Regions from separate parts of the Homo sapiens genome. Here all the other regions are linked to region 1. The links are contacts of gene promoters, found by promoter capture Hi-C in blood cells and fetal thymus (Javierre and others, 2016). All regions are on one chromosome and are shown on one strand. Each heading gives the region's core, a stretch centred on a gene start or on the middle of the fragment in contact. The rest is flanking DNA. Distances are from core to core; before and after follow the strand shown.

Region 1 (2,700 bases), core at 126-2,625:
TTACGCAAAGACAATTATCACGTGAAAAATTTATAGAATGTAAGCAGTAAGAGAGTATTATGCAAAAATATCCTAAGGTAATTTCAGTATAAATTATAGGACCACATTTATTAATAATATACGTTATGAGAACAATCATTTGCAGTCTCACTGTGAAGGCAAAAAAAAAAAAAACAAAAACCAAAACCCAAAGGATAAACAGAAATAGCACAGTCCACCGAATACACTGCATGGTGTTTATAACTGTATAACCAAACTAAGTAATCTTTCCCCTCTCTTTAACTTTTATGCACCACCTGCCATTCTAGATACTATCAATCACACTAAATAATAATAAAAACCAACCACCTTCAATCTGATCATTCTGGGCAGGAAACTGAATACAGTTTTGACCAGATCTTCGAGAAAGATTCATATACACGAAATTAACTAGTTCTGTTAAAAGGCTGCTATAAAAATACCATCATTACGAGCTATACAGAACTTTAGAATCCAGCTAAGAGTGCAGAAATACTGAATTTCTTAATTTATGTGGAGGGGGCTGTAAACCCAAAGGTAGAAGGGCATTTCAGCATTCTGGCGTGTTCAGAGTTTCTAGGGTATAGTATCTCTCTAACACACAGAGAGCATTTCAAAGGGTGGCTATGGCCAGGAAACCTCAGAGCGGGTTCTGCCGTCACACTTGATCCCGAAGGCGGGCCAGTCTCTGAGACAGTTCATCCTGCTCCGCCGAAGCCACGCTCGTGCCCACGGAGCCGGTCTGGCCCTGCGGCAGCTCCATGTTGAGGTCGAGGCCCGCCTCATCTGCCATTTCCTGGAGCAGCATATCCACTTGGTTCTGGGGAGTGGTGAGCGTCGTCGTGCTGCTCATCGTGTCTTCCATTTGCTGCGTCTGGACGTCCAGAGTCTCAAACTGGTGCTCGAATTTGTCCATCAAAGCAGAAATCTTCTCCAGATTCATGGTCTTCAATGTCGCATCCATCGACTTAACCACACCAGCCATCGACTTGGTCACCTTGCCCATCGTCACCGCCGTCTGGACCCTGGCAGCCACTGCATCGACTCGCGCACTCATTCTCAAGAAATTCACCGCCTGGTTCTTCTGGCGGATGGCATTTTCGGCGTGTATCCTCGCAACTTCCATGTTGCCCTTCTGAATGGCCTTTTTAATTTTGGCCTTTTCGGCCTTTTCCTCCTTATCGCATTTTTTGGCACTCCTACTCAGTTCTTTGGCCGCGAACTTCAGGTTGAACAGGTGTTTCTCCATGTTAGACATAGTCGGACGGCTCCTTTGGGTCGGCGGCCCGGCTGAGAAGCGCGCCGAAGGCAGAGAAGGTAAGGTAAGTCCGCTCCCGGCCGCCGCTCCTTTGTTTTGGTCCCACTTCCTGTTTCTACTGTGAGCGGCGCAGGTGGTGACGTCAGAGCCCAGCGCCAAAGGCGGAGCCTGCGGGACGGAAGGCGCCGGGGTGGGGCCTGTGGGACGTAAGACGCCAGGGGCTGCGCATGCAGGGGGATTCTGGCTGGACGCTCCGGCGCTGCGGCGGGGAACGCTCGCTTCCTGCGCTGCGTTCTACCCGGTTTTTAAAATTCTAACGCATTAGTCAATTCACAAAAATTAGTGCCCCCACGCACTTTCCTAGTAATAAATCTACCGAAGTAGACAGGATCTGTGGAGACCCGCGTGTAAAATTACCCACGCTCCAAACTTGGCAGGCTTTATAAAGGGTGACTGGCTAGCGGGCTAAAAACCAGCCAAACATCAGCTAGGTCTTCGCACTAACGCTTGCTTTATTAGCATGGGTAATTTCCACTTTCTCAGGGGAACTGGAAACCATGGATACATTAAAAACAAAAACATTAAAACACATTAAAAACAAACGGGTCATTGACGCGTCTCCATCTTTGACTACAATTTGTGCTAGAGTTCTGTAATATCCTTTTATTGCATTGAGTGAAAATAATCTTCAAAACTGTGGCACCACCAAATTTATACTTTGTCTGGAAGTTCAGCTTCTAGGTGAGTTGCCAGCAATTATCCAAAAATCGTCCCGTGGTTTAGTAATAAAAAGACCCATCTTTTGCTGACACCATTCTGTCTTTTTGATGTTTTATAAATATCCAAGGAACTTCACTCACATTTAAGTTTGACAGGCTAAACTGTCATTTTAAATTATGCAGGCAGAGTATGTTGAGATATCAGGACCCACACCCACGGGCATACATCAAAACTGTCACTATGTATTACGCCCTTTAAAAATGCTGGCTTTCAAATGGCAGCAATGTGTGCTGTCACTTTTCTCTTTAGAAAGATTCCTCCGATACAGCAATAACAATGTGAGAAGACCAAATCTGCCCTAATGAGGTAGGCTGAAAATGAACTCTGAGAGCGAATTCTGTTTAGAGATCATTTTAATCTAGCAGCCTGCCACCTCGCTTAGCTTCCTGTGATAGCTTGCCAGTCAGTTTCACAACACAAGACCTTCTGAAGACATAGCTCTGATGTTTTCACTCTCTTGCTCCAAACCCCGGGCATGGAGGCTAAACCTGCTGTGCAGCATGCTGGCTCGTCTTTCGCGCCCCTCCACCTCCGCCAGTCAAAGCAAACCGCAGCATGGAATTTGAGCATTATTTGCGTCATTCGGCCAGCGGGGAGAATGTGACTGACGCCCGGTCCTGTGGCTATGCTGTTCCTGTTGCCTG
Region 2 (2,700 bases), core at 138-2,637, 2.2 Mb after region 1:
TGCCATTCTCCTGCCTCAGCCTCCCGAGTAGCTGGGACTACAGGCGCCCGCCATCACGCCCGGCTAATTTTTTGCATTTTTAGTAGAGACGGGGTTTCACCATGTTAGCCAGGGTGGTTTCAATCTCCTGACCTCGTGATCCGCCCACCTCAGCCTCCCAAAGTGCTGGGATTACAGGCGTGAGCCACCGCGCCCGGCCTAGGCTAAACTTTTTTAAATATAGGACTTTGAAAGCTTTAAAAAATAGGTAAACATAAACTGTTTGGGGGTATTATCTCTAAATTTTTGGAGATTTTAGTTTTTTCTTTATACTTTTCTGGGCACTCCAAAAACATGTATTTTTGTAATTGGAAAATTCAGAAAAGAATAAATGTTACAAAGATGTAGAATTCCGGCCGGCCATGGTGGTTCACACCTGTAATCCCAGCTCTTTGGGAGGCCAAAGTGGGAGGATTGCTTGAACCCAGCAGTTCAAGACTAGCCTGGGCAACAAAGTGAGACCGCATCTCAAAAAAAAAAAAATATGTAGAATTCCACCCCTCCCAACACCTGCCACATACCTACAAGCAGCAGCAACAACAAAACCTCCTAAAAAACCAAGAACATCGTTTGAGGGAGAAGTGAGTTGGCACCTGAGTTCAAGATTGTCTACCTGGATGATTTGTCCGAATAATGAAATGGTGGCAAACTGCAGCCATTCAAGCCAAGGGCAGCTGGTGAGAGGACACTGTTAAGGCACTTGCTTGGGAATTTCACAGAATTGTGATGAACAAAATATTATATGAGAAAGATAATTTTTGTATACTTGGCCAGAATAATTGAAACAGGCTAGTTAAAAAGTTATTAGTATGGTTTTGAAGTGGTTAATATCTTGGTCAGGATATTGAGTGAGAAACGGAGTGAAGAGGTGACTCCTAAAATGTTTCAATGACAAAATCCTCAGGGAACAGTGATAACTTAGATGGAATTAGAGATTATACCAAGACCATACATGTTGAAAGACTAGAAGTTCTCTTAATGCGAAAGAAGTTGACGAAGGACCATTTTGACAGAAAAGCTATGAATGTGAGGATACGCAAACGCTATTGCCATTATTTAGAATCAGGATTCCAGTGTTTGAATACTAATTCCCCTATTTGCTTGCTTGCTTGCTTTCTTTCTTTTCTTTTTTTTTTTTTTTTTTGAGACAGTCTCACTCTGTCACCCAGGCCAGAGTGCAGTGGTGTGATCTCGGCTCACTGCAAACTCCACCTCCTGGGTTCAAGAGATTCTAATGCCTCAGCCTCCCGAGTAGCTGGGATTACAGGCATGTGCCACCACACCCAGCTAACTTTTGTATTTTTAGTAGAGACAGGGTTTCACCATGTTGGCCAGGCTGGTCTCGAACCCCTGGCCTCAAATGATCCACCCACCTCGGCCTCCCAAAGTGCTGGGATTACAGGTGTGAGCCACTGTGCCAGGTCATTTGCTTTTTGATCTTTGTCAAAATACCCAACCTTTCTGAGCTTCGATTTCCTTTATTTTTAAAATGGTAATATCAATTTCTACTTCACAGGGCTGTTTTAAATAATCAGAAAGCACATAAAAGTGCTTAACAGGCTGGACGCGGTGGCTCACACCTGTAATCCCACCACTTTGGGGGGCCGAGGCAGGTGGATCACTTGAGGTCAGGAGTTTGAGACCAGCCTGGCCAACATGGTGAAACCCCGTCTGTACAAAAAAAAAAAAAAAATATATATATATATATACAAAAATTAGCTGAGTATGGTGGTGGGCGCCTGTAGTCCCAGCTACTCAGGAGGCTGAGACAGGAGAATCGCTTGTACCCGGGAGGCGGAGGTTGCAGCAAGCTGAGATTGCAGCAAGCTGAGATTGTGCAACTGCACTCCAGCCTGGGTGATGGAGCGAGATTCCATCTCAGAAAAAAAAAAAAAAAAGAAAAAAAGAAAAAAAAAGAAAAAGCGCTTAACATGATGCCTGGCACACGCTCTGAAAAATGTTTCATATATACGGTAATATTACCATTGGGGGAACTGATGTGAAAGTGACATAGGACATCCTGGCACATCATTTGAAACTTCATGTAAATCTGTAATTGTTTCTAAATAAAAAGTTAGAAAATGTATTAGCTATCTAGTCTGGGAATTATATTGTGTCATTGTGCTAATATTTTTCCCACCAAAGGAAGGAACCAAGGACCAGAGACACAAGCAATTTGTTACAAACAGTTACAGAGAAGTGAAATGAGAATGGAAGTAATTTCTTCTGAATCATATTACCATAGAGCAGCCTTAGTGTGAAGGGAGCTTAGAGTCAGGGCAGTTAACCACTGAACTTATCTGGGTTTGAATATGTGGTTTGCTATGGTTTATTTCCTGGTTCAACTTGACTCATCCATTCAGATTCAGAATAATAAACATTTAAACATTTAAAATAATAAGCATCTAAAATGATAAGCATTTCCTCCACACGTACTCTGTGCCAGGCATTGTGGAAGCCTCTCCCATATTGCTTTGAATGGGATTGCAACTAAAGCTTTCTAAATTCTAAGAGAAAGGCACAAAGGAAATTTACTACTGCCACTCTAATCCATTTAGTGCTCACTGTTTAAACATCTTTGTTTTCTCTTAATGAAATTAAAATGTGTGGAACAAATTGTGTAGGATGTAGTACCTCATCAGTGGGGAATTCTTTTGCCTC
Region 3 (2,700 bases), core at 37-2,536, 2.4 Mb after region 1:
ACATAAGTTTCTATCAGGGATCTTTCAAAACAGAAACAATATTCTTTTGGGTTACATGCTGGGCCCGATCTCTTCTTGCCAAGCAAACAACTATGCAAATATAACTGTACAAATTAAAGTTATTATGCACTTTCTGATACCACTTTCCTATTCTAAATTAGGGGAGAAATAGTCTGGATAAGATCCATAATTAGAAACAATATCCTGAAGAGAAAGCAAACTAAGTTGTATTACATTGTTTCGAGATACCTTGTTTAAAGAGTCACTTCTCAAAAGCTACTACTGTTGGCAGGGCGCGGTGGCACACGCCTGTAATCCCAGCGCTTTGGGAGGCCTAGGCGGGCAGATCACCTGAGGTCGGGAGTTCAAGACCAGCCTGACCAACATGGAGAAAATGTCTCTACTAAAAATATAAAATTAGCCGGGCGTGATGGCGCATGCCTGTAATCCCCTCAGGAGGCTGAGGCAGCAGAATCGTTTGAACCCAGGAGGCAGAGGCTGTGGTGAGCTGAGATCATGCCATTGCACTCCAACCTGGGCAACAAGAGCGAAACTCTGTCTCAAAAAATAAAAAACTAAAAAAAAAAAAAAAAAGCTACTGTTAACTAACCTACCCCACTTGGATCTACCAGATACTTTGAATGAGAGGTGGAAACCACTCTACTGACCTCCTTCCTACCCCTACTACCGCCACTCCAGCTTACAGTAATTATTTTCACAAAGACAGAAAGGAGTTATCAAATGACCACAATAACTCTAAAAACAGAAAGTGAGGTGATCTTTCTTATTCACAGTCCCACTTATTCATTTAGAAATGCTGAGCACCAAAACAAAACCTTATCACAAGTTCAGTATTTCGTTAATAACTGCCAAGTATAATGGAATACTCCCCAAAGTACTGCAGCATTAGAACATGACCACTCCACTAAATTAAAAATTCAGCGAAAGCTTTTCTAACAAGGCTGGATGGAGCACTAACTCAACGGCCAAACGGCTGCACTTCCTGTATATGCACGTTCAAAACACCTCGAATTAACATGCTAGGGACCTTGAAGAATTGTACTAGGCCTTGCTCAAGAGGAAGGCTTTGTAATACTGAATCCCAAAACTTGAAACAGCAGAATTACTTCAGGGAAGACGGAGGTGTTAAATATTCTGTAAAACCTGTTTCACTCTCACAACGATCAGTTTTAAAAAAAAGAGGGAGAACACTGACCTCATTAAGAGCATTCTGACAACACACATAGTTGAACATGAGTTGTGAAAAGAATTTTCAACTTCAGATCTGTCTGTCCATTCCCACTGAAACCTGAAGGAAGGATCGCAGCACCCAAAGGCGCCCACTGCTCAGTGCCAGCGGTGGGCGACACCAGGAGCCTGTCCTGGTCCCCTGGGTAAGCCCTGGAGCCTGGCCACTATGCCGGGCACGATCCACCAACCGTGAGGGCTGGGTCCCCTAGCCTCTGTCCAGGCGCCCCCCAAGAGCTTCCCCGAGGCCTGGGGACTCCTAACTCTCCACCCCCGGCCCCCGAGAGCACCACAAACGAGGACGCCACGAAGGGAGGCCCGTCGGCCAGTGGGAGGGACGCACGGCCAAGGGGGGCGAAAACTGGGGCGAAGCTTTCCGGGGAGGAACCCACGCCAGGGGCAGCCACGCCCCCCACCCCCAACTTCAAACCCGAGCGCTGCGAGCACCGAGCCCCACACGCTGCCTGACAGACGCGGGCGCGAGGCCGGCGCGGGAGAGGGTTCCTCGGGCACTCCAGGGGTATCGCCGCGACCCTAGCACGCGACCGCTCCCTGCGACTGACCTGTGCCTGCCGCCGCGCGACCGTCCGCCCCGCCGCAGCCTCCGCCTCCTCGCGCTCACGCTGCCGCCGCAGCCACCGGAGCCGCCTCCTGCGCTGCGCCCCAGGCCGGCCTCGGGCGCCCCATTCCCACCCCGCCCAGCCTCTGCCTGTTTACAATGATTGGGACGGAACGGGACGAGGCGGTCCAGCGCGCACGCGCATTCCCTCCTCCCGCCGCAGCCGGCTTCCCGGATCCTCCTCTCCGCTCAGACGGCTGAAGCCGTCAAGGGCAGGCGACCTGGGCTCTCGCGCGGGGCGCGCTGGGAGGCGTAGTTCCCAAGGCCCCGGCGTCCAGCCAGCCCGAAGGCCTCTCGCCAAGGAAGCAAACTACAACACCCAGGAGGCACCGCGCCCCCTTCGTCCCCAGGCTCGCTGAGGAGACTGAAGAAGAGCGCGAGAGAACGCGCCGAGGGCCAGTGCTCTGCAGGCGCCTGCGCAGTCGGTGGCCTTGCGGGTTTCGGGGACGGACGGCTTACCCCGGTGTGGTGCTGGCGAAGGTGGCTCGCGGGCATCTCCTGCAACGGCCTTGAGGATGGAAAGGGCTTTCCTCTCCACGCTCTGGCCAGCCTGCGCCTCAGCTCCCGAAGTTGAGAGCTTTCCTTGCGCCAGCGTGCTTTAGTCGTTCCAACCAGTTAAACCAGACTGGGGGCCGCCCGGCTGGCCGCTGGGTGGGGCGGCTGCCCCGCCTTCGACTGGGTGTGGGATTGGAGGAAAGAGCGCCGTGGGCCTGTAGGGATAGGCGGGAATAAACCTCTGTCGGGAACATCCACGGAATTCCTGAAGCGGGTGTGGGCTTCTGCAGGGCTTCAGCGCGCCCCCGGCTCAGCAGTTACCGAGCAGCCCCCGAGGA

What was found. The method cuts DNA at HindIII sites, captures the fragments that hold promoters and counts their contacts. A CHiCAGO score of 5 or more calls a contact.
Region 2: a fragment that was not itself captured here is called in contact with the fragment with the promoter of CHMP1B in region 1 in 3 of 17 cell types (neutrophils, total CD8 T cells and total CD4 T cells); the score reaches 9.0 in neutrophils.
Region 3: a fragment that was not itself captured here is called in contact with the fragment with the promoter of CHMP1B in region 1 in 1 of 17 cell types (fetal thymus); the score reaches 5.9 in fetal thymus.

Annotation. Positions count from the first base shown.
Region 1 is chr18:11,850,088-11,852,787 of GRCh38, reverse strand. It overlaps CHMP1B (charged multivesicular body protein 1B), which reads right to left and starts at 1,375. Exons shown (of 1, transcript NM_020412.5): 1 at 1-1,375. The coding sequence starts at 1,276. The coding sequence ends at 677. All of the region lies in intron 5 of GNAL (G protein subunit alpha L), which reads right to left. RefSeq lists a silencer at 664-958 and enhancers at 965-1,014, 1,283-1,522. The HindIII fragment of the contact is 8,099 bases long and covers 1-2,700 here.
Region 2 is chr18:9,619,411-9,622,110 of GRCh38, reverse strand. No RefSeq gene overlaps it. Among named protein-coding and RNA genes, the nearest start is that of PPP4R1-AS1, 6.0 kb to the right of the region's middle. The HindIII fragment of the contact is 2,301 bases long and covers 237-2,537 here.
Region 3 is chr18:9,474,803-9,477,502 of GRCh38, reverse strand. It overlaps RALBP1 (ralA binding protein 1), which reads right to left and starts at 1,990. Exons shown (of 10, transcript NM_006788.4): 1 at 1,812-1,990. RefSeq lists enhancers at 1,360-1,419, 1,158-2,026 and a silencer at 1,650-2,059. The HindIII fragment of the contact is 672 bases long and covers 951-1,622 here.